2 separate regions of the Homo sapiens genome follow, and region 2 is linked to region 1. Evidence: promoter capture Hi-C in 16 types of primary human blood cells and fetal thymus (Javierre and others, 2016). All regions are on one chromosome and are shown on one strand. The core of a region is centred on a gene start or on the middle of the fragment in contact, and the rest is flanking DNA. Distances in the headings are between cores, read along the strand shown. Region 1 holds the start of PLAC9 (placenta associated 9). Region 2 has its middle 24 kb from the start of MAT1A.

Region 1 (6,733 bases), core at 2,055-4,554:
TATAAGCCATAAAAGAAAATATTGGGAGGCCGAGGCGGGCGGATCACGAGGTCAGGAGATTAAGACCATCCTGGCTAACACGGTGAAACCCCGTCTCTACAAAAAATACAAAAAATACAAAAAATTAGCCGGGCGCGGTGGCGGGCGCCTGTAGTCCCAGCTACTCGGGAGGCTGAGGCAGGAGAATGGCGTGAACCCAGGAGGGCGGAAGTTGCAGTGAGCCGAGATAACGCCACTGCAGTCCGGCCTGGGCGAAAGAGAGGGACTCCGTCTCAAAAAAGAAAAAAAAAAAAAAAAAAAAAGAAAAGAAAATATTGAGAGATTTGGCTACCTAATATTTAAAACTTCTGAATGATGAAAGACACCACCAAGAAACTTAAATATAATGGAAGGCTGGAAGAAGACATTGCCAACATATATAACAGGCATTGCATTAATAATCAGAGTATATAAAGGAAAGGGAGGAAAATAGAAAAAAGTAATCGAAGAAGCAAATAAAGCTTAACCTCACTCATAACAAGTAGCATGTAAATAACAATAACAACAAGGTAACATTTTCCATCATCAAGCTGTCAAAATTTTAAATAATAAATATCCAGTGTTGGAGAATGTAGGTGACTGATAGGTTTACACTTCAGGTATCTCCAATCCAGAAGGGTTTTTTTTGTTTTTTTGTTCTGTTTTGTTTTTGAGACGGAGTCTCACTCTGTCACCCAGTGCAGTGGGTGACACTGCAGGAGTGCAGTGGCGCAATCTCGGCTCACGGCAAGCTCCGCCTCCCGGGTTCATGCCATTCTCCTGCCTCAGCCTCCCGAGTAGTTGGGACTACAGGCGCCCGCCACCACGCCCGGCTAATTTTTTGTGTTTTTAGTAGAGACGGGGTTTCACCATGTTAGCCAGGATGGTCTCAATCTCCTGACCTCGTGATCCACCCGCCTCGGCCTCCCAAAGTGCTGGGATTACAGGCGTGAGCCGCCGCGCCCAGCGCAGAAGTATTTTATGTAAATGGCGCCCCCTGCAGCCCAATTCCTACCTAGACTAACATGCTCAGGTGCACCTTGGAACAGCGCTGGAAGACCCCTTGCCCCTCCTGTGGGCTTAGTAACAATTTGGGGAACAGTTTTTGGCCTATCTGGCAAAATGTAAAAGGCCTTTGACGCAATGATTCCTCTTCCAGCCTTTCAGAAATATGTACATACAGGAATATGTACTACGTACATGAAGATATATGCAAAGGAATGTTTATTAAAGCTTATTTTATATTGGAGAGAAAAAGGAAGCAATCTACATGTCTGTCAATAGGGGACTGTTTGGATAAATAATGCTCCTTGTATCCATTCATGGGATATTTTAACTCTTAAAAGGAATGAAGTGGATTTATCTGTACCCACATAGACTGATCTCCAAGATTATTTTCTTTTATTTTAAGATGGAGTCTTGCTCTGTTGCCCAGGCTGGAGTGCAGTGGTGCAATCTTGGCTCACTGCCACTTCCGCCTCCTGGGTTCTGATTCTCCTGCCTCAGCCTCCTGAGTAGCTGGGACTACAGGCGCCCAACACCACGCCCTGCTAATTTTTTGTATTTTTAGCAGAGACGGAGTTTCACCACGTTGGCCAGGTTGGTCTCAAACTCCTGGCCTCAGGTGATCCACCCACCTCGGCCTACCAAAGTGCTGGGATTACAGGCGTGAGCCACTGCACCCAGCCAAGATTTAATGTTATGACTGAGATAAACATGAATGAAAGCAAATCTTCAAAATATCTATGACTTGATCTCATGTATATACATTTGTGTCTGAATATACATTAGGTAGATGGGGAATGCATAGACGTGGAACAGGCAGAGCCTACCAAGTTGAGGGGACTGGACCTGAATCATTGGACGGAGGGAATTCGTAACAGAAAAGACTTTCATGTTTTACTCTGTATACTTAATTACTTTATGCTCTACCGCAACAATAATGTATTGTATATGTTTTTGTGTGTGTGTGTGTTTTCTTAGTCTTAAATTCAAAATATAAGGTAGCCCACTGGCTCTAAGCTACAAGAATCCTTATGAGTTGGGCAGTTCTTTGACAACTTTTTTTCCCACCTGGCGAAACTATCAAGGAATGTCCTACCACCAAGCGTGAGAAATTTTTGGCATTCCTGAAATAAATTCTTCTTCTGAGCCAGCTCATGTGGGCATCATAATCTCCTTGAAGGCTTTTAAAAGATTTAGATCTGAGTCTGTCTCAGATTCTCGGGCTCAGAACCAGAATTTCTCCGTCTGAGGCTACTATCTTGCTCTGGAGGAGGGAGTGAGAACTGGATCACTGGTTAGCGTGGTAACTGTTTTGGACAATTGCATAGCCACAGCCAGGAACACAGAAGGCAGAGAGGCAGCCTTGATCTGCAAGAGCTCCAGGTAATCCCAACGGGGACCCTTGATGGACAAAGGCATTCTCCCAGGCTTGGTGATGAATGTGTTCCACTTACAGCCAGACGAGACACTCACTCAGGGCTCTGCAGCAGAGAAGTTAGAGCTACAGCTTTTTTGCTTTGTGTTTTTACTAAAACTTAATTTGTTGTTGCACTTGTTGGATGGGCATGTCCCATAGGGGAAGTTTCCACTACTGTGCTCTAAACTTTGGGCTGCTTGTACCATCTTACTTATCCCCTCATTAATAATGAATTGAATAAAATCTTTAGTATATGCTAATTTCATATCTTTGCGAGAGTTACGATTTTACCTTTTCTTTTTAAAATTACCTTTTCATATTTCTATCACTCCCTTACCAGAGCAGTGAGTTTCTGGGTCTCCCTCTTAGGGGCAGACACTGTTCCATGTAATTAGAATTAATTTCTTGTTCGTAGGTAGACAGAGAAAAGCTGCCAAACTCCCAGGAGACAGGGGTTCAGATCCTGTGCTATGGCTGAGAGTGATGCCGAGGAAGACACTTCCCTCCGAGTCTTAGTCTGCCCGCCTGTGAAACTGGCTCGTAACAAACCCCTGACCCCAGGCTCGGTCGCCTTGAGCCCAAGACCTCACCCAATGCCCCCCGCCCCGCCTTCCCTCCCGGGCTCCCAGGAGGTGCGGGGACTCGGGGGGCGGCCCCTTCCTCGGGAGGCGCCCAGGTGGCACGTCGGTGCCTCAGCTCCCGGGGTCTCTGGGCTCCGCGCTGCCCACGGGGTGCCGAGGGGCCTCTGGAGGGGGCGGGTTCTCTCGAGCCAGAAAGTCCGGAGCCGCCCAGGAATTTTGGCTCGAACTGAGTGCATTTCCTCTCGGGCCGGCCGGGTGCGATCCGGGAAGGGCGGCTGCGGGCAGACGCGGCGCTGCGCTCGGCCAGGCCGGCACCATGCGGCCCCTGCTCTGCGCGCTGACCGGACTGGCCCTGCTCCGCGCCGCGGGCTCTTTGGCCGGTGAGTGGGGCGCAGGGCGCGGCAGGGGACCTGGAGCCGGGGAGACCCGCAGATGGCGAGGAAGGAATGAGCGAGAGAGACGGAGAGAGAGCTGGACACAGCAGCGAGATGGACAGAGAGGCAGATGCAGGGAGGGAGGGATGGAGAGAAAGATTGAGAGGAAACAGACTCAGAAAAAGGCAGAGAAGTAGAGCAACGGAGAGATAAAGGAGATAGGGAAGAATACACAGTGAAAAGGAAAAAGGAGAGGCTGAGACAGAAAGAGGCTTCCCCTGAACAGATATGAACTAAGATAGAAAGAAAAAGGAGTTTGAGAGACAAAAGAGAAGAAGGAAAGAGAAAAAGTGATTAAAATGGCAAGGGGTGGAGGGAGAGAGGATATTGAAGAAAAGAGAAAGATTTGAGAGAGACCAAAAAGGAGAGAGAGGGAAGCTCGATGCCCGGAGTAGAGCTGGCAAGAGAGAAGGAGCCAGGATCTGGAGTGGGAGGTCACAGCTGCTGGGTGGGGCAGCCCCGGAGGCCAGCTCCATCTCAGAGGGCCTGTGGAGGCTCAGGCCTGGCTTTATAGGACATTGCATAAGAAGCCACACTCCAAAGGATGAGTGACCCAGGCTAGCCCAGCACAGCCTTAAGGAACCAGGCAGTCGGGCCCAGGAGAAAGGCCACCGATTCACCTGCCAGGTGGCCTCAGGTGGATCTGCAGTCAGTGAAGAAGTCAGCCTCCCGGTTTCCAGGGAGCTTCTCTGGGAAACTGAGCTATGTTGGGTGGAGATGGGGGACTGGGTGGAGGTGGAGAGCTGTGCGGAGGAGAGAGGCTGTCTGGGTACTCCATTAGCTGGGTTCCTTGCTTTTCACTGTCCGCTTTCTTCCCCTCACCTACCCCTCAGGCGGGCGGATCACAAGCTCAGGAGATCAAGACCAGCCTCGCTAACATGGTGAAATGCTGTCTCTATTAAAAATACAAAAAATTAATCGGGCGTGGTGGCACATGCCTGTAGTCCCAGCTACTCGGCAGGCTGAGGCAGGAGAATCACTTGAACCTGGGAGGCGGAGGTTGCAGTGAGCCGAGATCAAGCCACCGCAATCCAGCCTGGGTGACAGAGCAAGACTCAGTTTCAAAAAAAAAAAAAAAAGAAGAAGGAAAGGAGGAAAGTATTCATGTATTAGTGTAATTTCACACTGATTTCATATATTTTTGTGCATAATCTTTCAGATTTTAGATGATATATCTTAACTTTTGATTATGAAAACTTTTGGATACAAAAAAATACAAAGTAATAGTATGTGAAAGAATCATGTAATATACTTATCAACGCTGCTTCAAGAAGTATCAGTTCATGGGCAGTTTTATCTCATCTATAGCCTCCACCCTCTCTCCCCTCCCTGGATTATTTTAAAGGAAATCCAGGCATTGTATATTTTCTTTCTTTCTTTCTTTCTTTTTTTTTTTTTTTTGAGACAGGATTTCATTCTGTCACCCATGCTAGAATGCAGTGGCACAATCTCAGCTCACTGCAACCTCCGTCTCCCGGGTTCAACTGATTCTCCTGCCTCAGCCTCCTGAGTAGCTGGGACTACAGGCACGCACCACCACACCTGACTAATTTTGGTATTTTTAGTAGAGATAGGGTTTCACCATGTTGGCCAGGCTGGTCTCGAACTCCTGGGCTCAAGTGATCCACCTGCCTTGGCCTCCCAAAGTGCTGGGATTACAGGTGTGAGCCACAATGCCTGGCCTGGCATCATGTATTTTCATCTATAAATATTTCTTTGTGTACCTCTAAGAGATAAGCACTCTTAATAAACATAACTGCAATGCTATGATCATACTCCAAAAACTGTGTGTGATTGAATATCATTAAATATTCAATCACTGTTCAAATGTCCTTGATTGATTGTGTCATATCTTTTTGCAATTCATTTGTTTGATCCAAATAAGGTTACATACACTGCATTTGGTCAATATGTCTGTTAGATCTCTTTAAATATGTAAGTCTTCTCTCCCCTTTTTTTACTTAATTTTTTGTTTTTGTTGAAGAAACTAAGTTTGTCCTGTAAAGTTTTCCACATTTAGATTTTGCTAATTGCATCCCTTTTATGTCATTTAAATACCTCCACCCCTTATATTTTCTATAAATTGAGAGCTATCTCTAGCACGTCCAACTTCCAACCTTGGTTTGTTTGTTTGTTTATTTATTTATTTATTTATTTGAGATGGAGTCTCGCTCTGTCTCCCAGGCTGGAGTGCAGTGGTGCGATCTCCGCTCACTGCAAGCTCCGCCTCCCGGGTTCACACCATTCTCCTGCCTCAGCCTCCCAAGCAGCTGGGACTACGGACGGCTGCAACCATGCCCGGCTAAATTTTTTTTGTATTTTTAGTAGACATGAGGTTTCACTGTGTTAGCCAGGATGGTCTCGATCTCCTGACCTTGTGATTTGCCCGCCTCGGCCTCCCAAAGTGCTGGGATTACAGGTGTGAGCCACTGCGCCCGGCCTTTTTTTTTTTTTTTTTTTTTTGAGACAGAGTCTTGTTTTGTCATCCAGGCTGGAGTGCAGTGGTGCGATCTCAGCTCATCACAACCTCTGCCTCCTGGGTTCAAGCAATTCTCGTGCCTCAGTCTCCCAAGTAGCTGGGATTACAGGTGTGCACCACCACACCCAGCTAATTTTTGCATTTTTTAGTAGAGACGGGGGCTGCGGGGGAGTTTCACCATGTTGGCTAGGCTGGTCTCAAACTCCTGACATCAAGTGATCAGCCTGCCCCGGCCTCCCAAAGTGCTGGGATTACAGGCATGAGCCACCGCGCTGGGCCCAAGTCTTGGTTTCTTTTAGCAGCACTCAGAGAAACCTTTATCCCTGATGGCTTTTTAGACCATGAGCCACCACGCCCGGCCCATATTTTGGAGTTTTTTATAAAATCACTTGAAGAATAGTTTTCTGCTGCTTTCAAAAATGATCAAAACCCGTGGATGGTTTTGAGTGAATCATACATTTTAATACAAATATTGGATGTGGTAAATTTATTATTCTATTATGTTGAATGTGGTCAAATATAATTAACCCCCAAGTGGCCAGGGTTGCTTTTCAAAGCAGAGTGTGACTTTGACAATTCAGAAGATACAGCGGCACCTTTCAGATGCCACTGAGAAAACATTTCTCAACCCCCAGCATGCAGAAATCATCTGTGTTGTGGCCCTTTCTTACTGTTTGGGTCCAGATACAAAAGGTCTCCCCATAAGGCCTGTAAGTAGAAGCACCCGTACTTCCGCCTCAGAGGATGGGACCCAGGGGCCACGTCTCTTTAACTGGGGCAGCCAGCCCAGCCGAGCCCT
Region 2 (6,548 bases), core at 1,038-3,537, 130 kb after region 1:
GGTCGAAATGCTCCCAGATAATAGCATAGTTTTGGAAATAATGGACTACATCATAAAATTAAAATTAACTCCTTCTGTTTTCTAGAACTTATAATGAGAATAATTTAAATAACCATTATTTACCAAATTTTATTCATATATGTATAATACTATTGATGTATCATTTGAGGAAAAGTAAAGCACATATAAAAGAGGCTTTTAAATTAAAAACAAATATAAGGGACTTTTAAAAGTTTGTGGGAAAATGAAATTAAAAGACAAGAATAAAAAATATAAACTTTATTTCTCTCAAGTTCTATCAAGGTCAAGACACTTTTGTAAGTGATGATATCGTCCATTTTGTCCATCTCCAAAGAACTGAGGATCCTGGGAATTTAACCATGTCAAGGCAGTCTTTTTTACATTATTAAATGGAGAAAAACGGGTCTCCTTTAAATAATTTCTTAAGATTAGGAAACAAAAAGAAGTCATAAGGAGCCAAATCAGGACTGTAAGGTGGATACCTAGTGATTTCCCATTGAAACTCGCAAAATTGACCTTGTTTGATGAGAGGAATGAGCAGGATCATTGTCATGATAGAGAACTCTCTGGTGGAGCTTTCTTGGGCATTTTTCTCCTAAAGCTGTGATTCTCTCAAAACACTCGTAATAAGCATATGTCACTGTTCTTTGGCCTTCCAGAAAGTCAACAAGCAAAATGCCTTGAGCATCACTGAAAATTGTTGCCCTGACCTTTGCTCTTCACCTGTCTGCTTTTGCTGTGACTAGGTCACCTCTGCTTCTTGGTAGCCATTGCTCTGATTGTGCTTTGTCTTCAGCATTGTACTGGGAAAGCCAAGTTCCATCTCCTGTTACAATTCTTTGAAGAAATGCTTCAGGATCTTAATCCCACTTGTTTAAAATTTTCATCTAAATCTCCCCTCCTGTCTGCAGTTGATCTGTCCATGGTGTTGGGTCTTTTTCTGCTGTTCATCATTGATCCTCTTCAATTATGGCATGAAGAAGATGAATATTTTTCCTTACAAATTGATATGGATGGTCTACCGCTGTGGACTTCATCTTCCACATAATCTTGTGGTTTTTTTTTGTTGTTGTTTTTTTTTTGAGATGGAGTCTTGCTCTGTCACCCAGACTGGAGTGCAGTGACATGATCTCAGCTCACTGCAACCTCTGCTTCACGGGTTCAAGTGATTCTCCTACCTCAGCCTCCCAAGTTGCTGGGATTACAGGTGCATGCCACCATACCCAGCTAATTGTTGTATTTTTAGAAGAGATGAGGTTTCACCATGTTGGCCAGGCTGGTCTCAAATCTCTTCCTTTCTTAAAATGTGTTTTCCATTTGTGAACTGCTGATTTTTTTGGGGGGGGGGATGTTGTCCCCATAAACTTTTGGTAAAGCATCCATGACTTCACCATTCTTCCACCCAAGCTTCACCATGAATTTAATGTTTGTTTTTACTTCAATTTTCACAGAATTCATGTTGCTCTGGTAGGTGCTCTTATCAAGCCAATCTCTGATCCTTCTCAGTGCCTCAAACTAGACCCTATTCAGAAATATTATAACAAGTTAGTGTGAGTTTATTTTGGTGTAAAAAAAATTTGAAGTCCATGCACAGTTTTTTCATAATACACATTTTCCATGAACTTTTTGAAGCCCCCTCATAAATAATTCAAAAATACATTTGGGAAAATTTGAGAAATTATGTAGGGCCTGGTGGTAATTGGGCATTTGGACTGGCAGGATCATGTGGTGGCTCAATGAGAAGCCAGAAAGCAACTCTTTCCCATTTTCTGGGTGGGGGCTCCAGCCCCTGAGTGGGGATAAGGAGGAAAGCAGCCCTTCATGGAAGCTGGCTCAGGAGTTCACCCAGGCTTCCTGGAGAAGGGGACAGAAGAGGATGTCTCCTTCCCATGAACTCCACATTTGAGTTCACTGGAAACATAGGCTCTGGGAATGGAGGGGAAGAGGGCAGAGGAAAGGCTGGCAGCTGAGGTGGGGTATAAAGGGAGGGGAGTGTCAGAGGAGGCTGCGTCCACGCCTGGAGGTCAGAGGGCAAATGCCCCCAATCACGCTCCATCTGGGTTATCAGCTGCTTGAGGATCCATGTCCAGAAACTCGGGGAATCACTGTGTCCGTTTTCCTTGCCTCGGGACTGTGCCTCTTGTCTGGAGATGATGAGGTTTCTTTCAGCCTCCCATGCTCTCCACCAATGATCATGAGTTTCCATTCGAGACACAGAATCTGGCTTTGAGAATAAGAAACAGTTCCCTCCAGCTTTTCTTCAAGAGCCTCAAGTCACCTTCTGTAACTCCAGATCACAAGCTGGACCCATCCAGGGCAGCAGGCACTCCTGGGCTTTGACCTCCTCTGTCTCGAGGTGAAACTCGGTGAGGGTTTTACATTCCACTGAACTACTGCTGGACTGCAGTGGCACGTCCCTGATCTCTGCACAGAATGTCTTTCATCCCCTGGTTAAACAAGTCTGTCAAAAACAAGAGAACTTTCACCACACGCATACCATGACACCCTCACCACCTCCCAGGGTGATCCAGGCCGAGCAAAACTTGTGCTCACCTGCTTCTGCCTCAAGCTCCATGGAGTCTGCTGGGTTCACCAATAAAGCAGCTCACGCGAGGCTGAAGGTCCTCCCCCATTTCCCAGGCTGCTGCAGAGCTTCTTGCAGCCACCATGGCCAGCTGGGCCGAAACACTGAGACCACTGACCACGGTCTGCCCAGAACCACACCCGTGCCTGGCAACAGGGCAGACTATCACTGGAGAGGCGTGGGGGCACAGCGACAATAGAATCACACCCTCCACCCTGCCCTCTGCTGAACCCCCTCCTGTGGCCCCAGAGCACTCTCCCCATCCTGAGCGCTCCCTGTTCTCTCTGCCTGGAAGGCTTCCTCCGGCTGCTGGCGTGGAGCACATATGTCCACACAAAATAACTGCACTCCTTACCGCAGGCCCCAGGGGTCCGGGGCGGGCCTGGGGCGGCTTGGTTCTCAGTGGAAGGAGGGAAGGAATGCCGCGGAAGGAAGGAACAGGTGAGTGAGTGAGTGAGTGAGTGATGAGGCCCAAAACCATCCCTTGCCCTTCCTCAGAATTCACACTTTCTTGTTCTCTCTTGTCAGTTGCTTCCCTAAGGAAAGCTTAAAATCCCTGTCCACAAAATACCTGAAATATATAATTAAAAATATACATGTATATATTATATAATTTTAAATATTTAACAAATTGAAATAAATGCAAATCTATACACTGATAACATCAGGTGATCATATAACACTAAAATTCATCATTTTGGACTACAATGAAAATCTCAAAAATGTGTTTGGAAAGTACAAATAATAGAGATTATTTTCTATTAATAACGTGTCAATGAAACTAGAAATGAGTGAAAAATTGAGGAAAAACAGCCACATAGGAATTTTATGACTCCCCCATAAGCCATTTTGGATCAAAAAGCCACCAAAACCAACATTCAGTTCAGAAAGTTAAAAATGGAAAAGAAACACAAGGAAAGCAGAGAAACAGAAATGAGATCAAAACGAATTAAAATGTCTTAGAAACTGTGAAGGCTTTGATGCAAAAATCCAAAAACAAAAAAAAATGGCTTCTTTCCTTTCTTTTAAGAGAGGAGCAGAAATATACAATTAAAGATGAGATCAAACAGAAAACCAAAGACATAGAAGAGAACTAAGTTCAGAGCTGCTTTGTAGAGCTCAGTGCTAGAGGTGGAGAGAGCTGGCCATGCCTGCTGGGAGGGGCGGGGCAGCCCAGGAAGTGGGAGTGGGGTCGGCCTGGTGGGGGTTGGGAGGTGGGGCCCTGAAGCTGCTGCTGGGCTACTTTTCGCCCAAGGGTGAAGATGGAACAGCCCTGGGTTGTCTATACAGGTCGCGGCCTCCACCTCATCCCACCCCACTTACTCTCCCGAGGAGGGCATGGATACCATGCCAGGGGGCCTGAAGAGGGTTGCAGAGCCCTGGAGGAGGCCAGGGCCAGGGGCTGCCACGGGAAGTGGAAGGCAGTGGCCCCCACTCCTCCCAGAGAGGCTTCTGGGAAGCCTGCACAGAGCCTGGGAGTCCAGGGCTGCCCCTCCTGCTGGAGAATACACTGTTCAGAACTAAAGGAACAGCGGGATCCCAGGACTTCACAGCCCGGGAACAGTCCCTCCAGAGCAGCGGGAACCAGGCAGTGTCCTGGGCAGATCTCGAGGAAGTGGAGGGAGATCCAGCCGGCTCCCACTCTTAGCTCCCATCCTGCCCACGGACACAATCTGCTCTCTGAGTGGGTGGTCCTCCAAAGTGTCTTCCCCTGCCAGAGCCTGTTTCCTCCTGGTCACTTGGGATTCTGACAGCCTCCGAGGAAAGGAATTCCTGTCCTCTTAGGCTGTTGTGACTGGCTCCGCAGTTGCAGTCTTGGCCTGTGAAGGAGGGGGCTCCTCCCAGCCAGGCCTTGTGTCCCAGGGCCTTTCTGTGGGCACTCCTGCAAACACCCCAGAGGCAGCCACCTCAACCCTGGGGCAGGAGAGAAGCCCTGCTTTGGTGGCCCAGAATGGATGCTTCCCTAAGATCCACCCACCCCATCCCCCAGTCCATTCAGCACACGCTGACCTTGCCCTCCTGGGGTTCTGTCCCCTAGGCCTGGGAGCAAAGCGATTGTCTCTATCTTGATGCCACCTCTGACCGCAAGGTCAAACTAGGCAGACATGACATTTACATTTCAAGAAGAACCATATTTTCATCCAGAAAGTCTGTACCAAGTTATACCGATCAACTGTGTTTGGGGATATCTATTTCCTTATATCTTTGCCAGCCCTGGATTTTAAAAACCTTTTTCTTTTTCTTTTTTTTTTAAAATTTTTTATTATACTTTAAGTTATAGGGTACACGTGCACAACGTGCAGGTTTGTTACATATGTATACATGGGCCATGTTGGTGTGTTGCACCCATTAACTCGTCATTTACATTAGGTATATATCCTAATGCTATCGCCCCCCACCCCACAACAGACCCCGGTGTGTGATGTTCCCCTTCCTGTGTCCAAGTGTTCTCATTGTTCAATTCCCACCTATGAGTGAGAACATGAGGTGTTTGGTTTTTTGTCCTTGTGATAGTTTGCTGAGAATGATGGTTTCCAGCTTCATCCATGTCCCTACAGAGGACATGAACTCATCATTTTTTATGGCTGCATAGTATTCCATGGTGTATATGTGCCACATTTTCTTAATCCAATCTATCGTTGTTGAACATTTGGGTTGGTTCCAAGTCTGCTATTGTGAATAGTGCTGCAATAAACATACATGTGCATGTGTCTTTATAGCAGCATGATTTATAATCCTATGGATATATTCCCAGTAATGGGATGGCTGGGTCAAATGGTATTTCTAGTTCTAGATCCCTGAGGAATCGCCACACTGTCTTCAAATCTTTTTATTTATTTCTTTTCTTTCCTTTCTTTTTTTTTTCTCGCCATCTGTTTGCCGAAATACAATGTTGCATTTTTTAAAGTGTTTATTTTTTGAAACAAGTACAATTGAGCAACCTTTGTTTCTCCTGACTTTCTCCATTTCTTTGATTATATTTACTTATTCCTATCCGTCTAGTTTTTTCCATTTCCTACTGGGGCTTGTATTGCTTTCTTATTGAGCTGCGGTTCACTCCATTCAAATATTTTCTACTCTGTCACTTATCTTTTACCCTTACTTGTGGCTTTTTCCTAATGCACAAGAATTTCATTTTTAAGAAATCAGATTTGGCAAGTGTTATGGAGTCAATGTTTGTGTCCCCCCAAATTCAGATGTTGAAATCCTAACCTCCAATGTGATATCAGGAGGTGGGACCTTTCAGAGGCGGGGCCCTCATAAATGGGATTGGTGCCCTTATCACACACACCCCAGCTCTCTCACCCTCTTTCTGCCGTGTGAGGATGCAATGAGAAGTTGGCCATTTGTACCCAGAAGTGGGACCTCTCCAGAACCAACCATGCTGGCACCCAGCTCTCAAACTTCCAGCTACGAGAACTGTGAGAAACAAATTTCTGTTATTTATAGGCCACCCCGTTTGTTATTTTGTTATAGCAGCCTGAAAAGACTAAGACAGCAAATTATTTGGCTTCTGATTTCCATCCTGTCCCATAAGAGTCACATGAAAGTGTCTGACAAACCTCCCATATTATAGGGACTCCACTGTTGAGGTTGTAAGCTCTCCTGTTCCCTTGGGTTGATTTCCTCTCCCCACTGAATTATTTATCTACCCACATTGTTCTGCATCTGAGCCGACATGAACCAAACTCAGAACACAGTCCTTGTTCCTTCTTTCTCCAAACGTTCCTCATGGAGGCATTATGGTAGGAAGGAAGAAGACCTCATAGGCCAGGGACCAGATGTCTGTCACATTGCCTCTTACACTGTGCCTGAGTCATACTTACTCTAGGGAATTTGCCACAGGCATAAAGTTATTCTAAAGTTCCCACCCCATGCCTTTCATCCCAGCTAACCCCTGCTGAGCTAATTATTTTCCCCAGACTCAACTCTCATCCCATAT

The links. The method cuts DNA at HindIII sites, captures the fragments that hold promoters and counts their contacts. A CHiCAGO score of 5 or more calls a contact.
Region 2: a contact is called between a fragment that was not itself captured here and the fragment with the promoter of PLAC9 in region 1, in 1 of 17 cell types (M1 macrophages). The highest score is 5.6, in M1 macrophages.

What each region holds. Positions count from the first base shown.
Region 1 is chr10:80,129,426-80,136,158 of GRCh38, forward strand. PLAC9 (placenta associated 9) reads left to right here and starts at 3,305. Exons shown (of 4, transcript NM_001012973.3): 1 at 3,305-3,401. The coding sequence starts at 3,338. The HindIII fragment of the contact is 6,415 bases long and covers 1,250-6,733 here.
Region 2 is chr10:80,262,027-80,268,574 of GRCh38, forward strand. No RefSeq gene overlaps it. Among named protein-coding and RNA genes, the nearest start is that of MAT1A, 24 kb to the right of the region's middle. RefSeq lists enhancers at 2,268-2,799, 2,800-3,330. The HindIII fragment of the contact is 1,723 bases long and covers 1,427-3,149 here.